Regions from separate parts of the Homo sapiens genome. Here region 2 is linked to region 1. Evidence: promoter capture Hi-C in 16 types of primary human blood cells and fetal thymus (Javierre and others, 2016). All regions are on one chromosome and are shown on one strand. The core of a region is centred on a gene start or on the middle of the fragment in contact, and the rest is flanking DNA. Distances in the headings are between cores, read along the strand shown.

Region 1 (3,070 bases), core at 276-2,775:
TTACGTGCACGCACCACCACACCTGGCTATATTTTGTATTTTTAGTAGAGACGGGGTTTCACCATGTTGGTCAGACTGGTCTCAAACATCGACCTCGTGATCCGCTCACCTCGGCCTCCCAAAGTGCTGGGAAGGCGTGAGCGAACGCGCCCGGCCCCAAGGGTTCTTACTATATACTGCAACATGCTGTCACCTCCGATGCTATCTAGCCCCAAATGTGCCAATTCTGTTTTGGATGTTACAGTACATTCTAATCAGTCTTTGTTCTAAGTACAAAGAATTTATTTGCAATAGCCTTTAACATATGGAATCTGAATTCACACAGGTCTACTCAGCAAGAAATAATTTGGATTCCCAACAACTCAAGAATAAGAAATGGGGCCCTCTCTAGTGTCTTGCCTATTTTTTACAGAAAAGTAGACGGCGAGACAGGGGTTCTAAAAACTGTTCCATTCCTAGGCACAGTGCATGAGGTAATTATGTCAACTCTCAGTAAAAGCATAAAAAAAAGAATGACCTGCCCATTACAGGGATATAGCAAAGGAACTGGAAACACTAAGTCTATCACTTACTTGGCCTACCTGCATGTGAATATAAAATACCATGTAATAATTATTTGACAGTAGATTAGAAACTAACTCCCATGTTTAAACTCGCTAAAACTCAGCTTCACTAATTTCCAGCTCTGACAAATGTGATTTTCATTGTCAGGAGCCACATGGGCCGCTGCTGGAAAGCGCTCAATGCATCCTTCCGAAATCTGACAGAGCAACCCCTTCATTAACACTTCTGAATGAGCTCCTTGTGTTTCTCTCAGTATCTGGTGCGAAAACCTCGGAACAGAAAAGCAGTAGTAACAGTAGCATAAAAAGAAAAAAAAAAGGAATAAAAAATAAAATGTTGGTTCCCACCTAACTTCACATTTGTCTTCAACTGAGTATTTCGTGTTTTGCGTCTGAGATTTTGGGGGGAGTAGTGGTGAATGTGAATTTCGGAGGGGCGAGAGGGAGGGTTCGGAAGCCTTTGGTGGCGACCGGCCAGGATCCACCTCAGTGACGAAGAACCAAAGTTCAGAGGATCCGCCGGGCAGGGCAGGGCCGGGTGGCGGTTGGCTAAGGGAGGAGAGGGCCTCAACGCTGGGCGGCGAGGCGAGGGCTCGGCGAGGCCCCCAAGCGGGGCCGCGGGACTGAGGAAGCTGTCCCTGCGGGGAGGTAAAGGGCAGCGGAGGAGCAGCAGCATCTCGGGAGAATGAAAGGCCCGCAAGGCTGAGCCGATCCTCAGGCGCCCTGAGCAGCAGCGACCGAACGGGGCGCCGGGCGGGGTAGGGAGCGGCGACGCCTCATACCTGGATGAGCACTTTCACGTACATGAGCGGCTGGGACAGGATGGTGAGACCGGAGCCCAGGAGCACCTGACTGGCCGCGTCCGCCATGATGGCACCCGCGGGCGGACGGACAGACAGACGGAGCCACCAAGCGACCCGGTGAGCCGGTCCTAGGTCACGTGCCAGGGCCGCCGGTTTCACTGGCCCGCCCGCGGCGCGCGCGCACGCACGCAGCAGCACGCGCCTCTCCGCCCAGTCCCCGCCCCCCCGTCCCGCCCCGAGAAACGGCAGGCGCTCGCGAGGGGGCGCTGAGGTCGGGGCGGGGCTTAAGGGACAGAGGCGCATGCGTTCTGCCGGGGGCTCGCCCTTCACCAGGAATGACGGTTTCTCTTGCACATGCGCTTCCAGGCCGCAAGTGTCCGGAAACAGAAGAATGGGAGTGTCAGTGGGGGAGTGTGACCGTGACGGCAGAGGCAAGGTCAGAGGACTGAAAAGAAATTGAAAAGGATTCTTCATTATGCTTCATCTCTGCACTTGCCTTTTGGGCATCATCAACATAGGATTCAAAAGATACTCAGCATCAGAGCCGTAACAGTCTCGTGACTGACAAACTCTAAATAAGTATAGCAAATAATGAATCCGCTAGCGAGTGGCTTTTCATTCATTTATTCGTTTGATTAATGTTATCTTTTCAAAAAAACCTTCTCTGACCATTCTAAAATTACCTCCCCCTTTTCTTTTTCTTTCTTTTTTTTTTTTTTTTTGAGACGGAGTCTCGCTCTGTCACCCAGGCTGGAGTGCAGTGGCCCGATCTCAGCTCACTGCAACCTTCGCCTCCCAGGTTCAAGCAATGCTCCTGCCTCAGCCTCCCTAGTAGCTGGGATTACACGCACACGCCACCACGCCCGGCTAATTTTTGTCTATTTAGTAGAGACGGGGTTTCACGATGTTGGCCGGGCTGGTCTCAAACTCCTGACCTCGTGATTCACCCGCCTTGGCCTCCCAAAGTGCTGGGATTACAGGAGTGAGGAGCCATCGCGCCTGGCCACCTCCCTCTTATTTTCTCCCACATTGTGCCCCGTCGTAGCATTATCACTGAAATTATGTCTCCTCCACTGGAATGAAAGCTCCATGAGTTCAGGAACCGTGACAGCCTCTGTTCACGGTTGTGTTTTCAGTGCCCAGCACATACGAGGTGCTCAATAAATATTTATTGCACAAGTGAACAAATACTTCAGTGCCTACCAGTCTACAGGCTATCAGAGGCAAAAGTGAAAAAGGCATTGTCCCTGCTCCTTCAGCCCCAGCTCACGTGTTCTATCAAACAACATTTGGTGAATCTGAGCTTGGAGCAGAGTGAAGTACTGTAGGGGAAAGACTTGGATTTGGATCCTGGCTTTTCCACTGCATCCATTTGTCATTTTAGCTACTTTAATTTCCAGTTTTTGTATCTAAATCTAACACTACTGTGTATCTCTCAGGGTTATTATGAGCATTAAGTGAAATTATGCATAGGAAAGGGTTTTTTTTAAAAAACTTTATATTGAAATACAGATATTGGCTGGGCACGGTGGCTCACACCTGTAATCCCAACACTTTAGAAGGCTGAGGTGGGTGGATCACCTGAGGTCGGGAGTTCAAGACCAGCCTGACCGACATGGTGAAACCCCATCTGTACTAAAAGTACAAAAATTAGTTGGGTGTGATGGCGGGTGCCTGTAATCCCAGCTACTCGGGAGGCTGAGG
Region 2 (3,085 bases), core at 371-2,870, 320 kb before region 1:
CTACATTCTAGATTTTTTGCTGATTGTGTCTCCTTTGTATTAGCGTGTTTCCTGTCACATATTTCTCATAGACTGGTAGTTCAGTTTAGAGGTTTGATCACTTTCAGATTCACTCTTTTGGGAAGAATACTTAATGAGTGGTGCTATACGCTTCCTATTGCCTCATATGGTTGTCCCTCTCTTACACATCAGTGGGCTCAGATGTGGGCAACCTGATCTGCCCACCAGAAAGTTCCTCATTTGTCTTCTGATTTTGCCTATGGTATTTTTTGACACACATAAATTTTTTATTTGTATATAACTTTTTTTTTTTTTTGAGACAGAGTCTCTCTCTATCGCCCAGGCTGGATGCAGTGGCATGATCTCGGCTCACTGCAACCTATACCTCCCGGGTTCAAGCAGTTCTCCTGCCTCAGCCTCCCAAGTAGCTGGGTTTACAGGTGCCTGCCACCACACCCGGCTAATTTTTGTGTTTTTAGTAGAGATGGGGTTTTACCATGTTGGCCAGGGTGGTCTCGCACTCCTGACCTCAAGTGATCCACCCACCTCGGCCTCCCAAAGTGCTGGGATTACAGGTGTGAGCCATCACGCCTGGCTACTTTTATATAATTAAATTAATCAATAGTTTCTTTTACGGCTTCTGGATTTTGAGGCATGGTTAGAAAAAGCCTTACTCTCCAGGATTATAAAGGAAATTGGCCGTGTTTTCTTCATTTCTGTGTTTTTAATTCTGAAACAGACCTAAGTAATTTTAAGGACCAAATACAACTCCTATATATAAAGTAGTAAAATTTTGCCTATGTTATCTGTTCCCCTGTGGTTTAGCTGAATTTGAATATCACATTCACAGTTTTTTTGAACAGGTGGTCTACCAAACGCAAGAAGGGCTTACCCTGAAGCAGAAACATACATGTCAGTGTAGCCAAGAAGGAGTCATTTTCATGTCACCCTTTAAAGTGTTAGAATTTGGCTAGTTGCCTCTCAGAGCCTAGGGCTGACTTAGGACATCTGCACCACAGCAGAAGTGGCACATGACTCTTGCCCTTTTCTTTTCCTTTTAAAAAAAATATCTCCAGCAGATTCCTTGAACTACTCTTACTCTCACCACCGTACAAAGGGAGCCTCATGCTAAGTCTCTGGAGTGTGGGACTGGACCCATTACCCAAATAGATGCCTCTTCCTCGAAGTGGTGCCATGCCAGGGAAGAGTGCACCATGGTCACTGTGCCATCACCTGGCTCCTGTGAGGCTATTTGATTTAGCCTTTCTCAGAGCATAGCCTGCTTTTTGCATGATCAACTGGACAGCAGTTTGGGAATTTTTTTTTTTTTTTTTTTTTTTTTTTTTTTTTTTTGAGACAGAGTCTCACTCTGTTGCCCAGGCTGAAGTGCAGTGGTACAATCTTGGTTCACTGCAACCTCCACTTCCCAGGTTCAAGCGATTCTCCTGCCTCAGCCTCCTGAGTAGCTGGGACTACAGGCACATGCCATCATGTCTGGCTAATTTTTGTATTTGTAGTAGAGACGGGGTTTCACCATTTTGGCCAAGCTGGTCTCGAACTCCTGACCTCAAGTGATCTGCCCACCTCAGCCTCCCAAAGTGCTGGGATTACAGGTGTGAGCTGCCACACCTGGCCAAGGAAAATATATATATATATATAATTTTTTTTTTTTTTTTGGAGGTGGAGTCTTGCTCTGTCACCCAGGCTGGAGTGCAGTGGCACAATCTTGGCTCACTGCAACATCCACCCACCGACTTCAAGAGATTCTCCTACCTCAGACTCCCGAGTAGCTGGGACTACAGGCACGCATCACCACGCTTGGCTAATTTTTGGTATTTTTAGCAGAGATGGGGTTTTGCCATGTTGGCCAGGATGGTCTTGAACTCCTGACCTTAAGTGATCCGTCTGCCTTGGCCTCCCAAAATGCTAGGATTACAGGTGTGAGCCACCATACCCAGCCAAAGATTTTTAAAAATTGTCTTTGTTGCCCTTTTTTTAGTTACAGAAGTAAAACAGTATATGCTGTAAATGTTTCAAACCGTGCCAAAGTTAAAAAATAATTAAAAGTTTTACTCACTGCCTTTCAATCCTTTGTCCCAGAGGTAACCAGTAATGAAGAGTTTTATGTGACTCCTTTCAGATTATTGAAAATGCATATTTGTGCAAATATAATTTATTTATATGGAATTTTGTTTTTGCACTTACGAAAGTGGTATCAAATTACAAATATTGGGCTGGGCATGGTGGCTCACATGAGCCTGTAATCCCAGCACATTGGGAGGCCGAGGCAGGTGGATAACTTGAGGTCAGGAGTTCCAGACAAGCCTAGCCAACGTGGTGACACCCTGTTTCTACTAAAAATACAAAAATTAGCCGGGCGTGTTGGGCAGGCGCCTGCAATCCCAGCTACATGGGAGGCTGAGGCAGGAGAATCGCTTGAACCCGGAGGCGGAGGTTGCAGTGAGCCGAGATCATGCCACTGCTCTCCAGCCTGGGTGACAAAGCGAGACTCCATCGCAAAAAAAAAAAAAAAAAAAAAATTACAAATATTGTTAAATAATTTGCTTTTTTCACTTAATGATATACCTTTCCGTGTCTTTTTTTTTTTTTCTTTAATGGATGCTTAGCCATTAGATGTCGTATGGTGTACCATAATTGGTTTAACTAGTGCCTCTCACTATTTTTTAAAAAAATATTACTCATGCTGGGTGTGGTGGCTCACGCCTGTAATCCCAGCACTTTGGGAGGCCAAGGTGGGTGGATCACGAGGTCAAGAGTTCAAGATCAGCCTGGCCAAGATGGTGAAACCCTGCCTCTACTAAAAATACAAAAAATTAGCCAGGCGAGGTGGTGGGTGCTTGTAATCCCAGTTACTTGGGAGGCTGAGGCAGAGAATTGTTTGAACCTGGGAGGCGGAGGTTGCAGTGAGCCGAGATTGCACCACTTCACTCCAGCCTGGGCGACAGAGCAAGACTCCGTCTCAAAAAAAAAATTTAAAAAAATGAAATATATATTTATATATTACTCATTAGGCCAAGCATGTTGGCTCACGCCTGTAATCCCAGTACTTTGGGAGGCTGAGGCA

What was found. The method cuts DNA at HindIII sites, captures the fragments that hold promoters and counts their contacts. A CHiCAGO score of 5 or more calls a contact.
Region 2: a fragment that was not itself captured here is called in contact with the fragment with the promoter of MTCH2 in region 1 in 1 of 17 cell types (M2 macrophages); the score reaches 5.4 in M2 macrophages.

Annotation. Positions count from the first base shown.
Region 1 is chr11:47,641,034-47,644,103 of GRCh38, forward strand. It overlaps MTCH2 (mitochondrial carrier 2), which reads right to left and starts at 1,526. Exons shown (of 13, transcript NM_014342.4): 1 at 1,346-1,526. The coding sequence starts at 1,432. RefSeq lists a silencer at 1,447-1,716. The HindIII fragment of the contact is 6,217 bases long and covers 1-3,070 here.
Region 2 is chr11:47,317,473-47,320,557 of GRCh38, forward strand. The region is part of intron 30 of MADD (MAP kinase activating death domain); the gene reads left to right. Among named protein-coding and RNA genes, the nearest start is that of MYBPC3, 34 kb to the right of the region's middle. The HindIII fragment of the contact is 3,885 bases long and covers 1-3,085 here.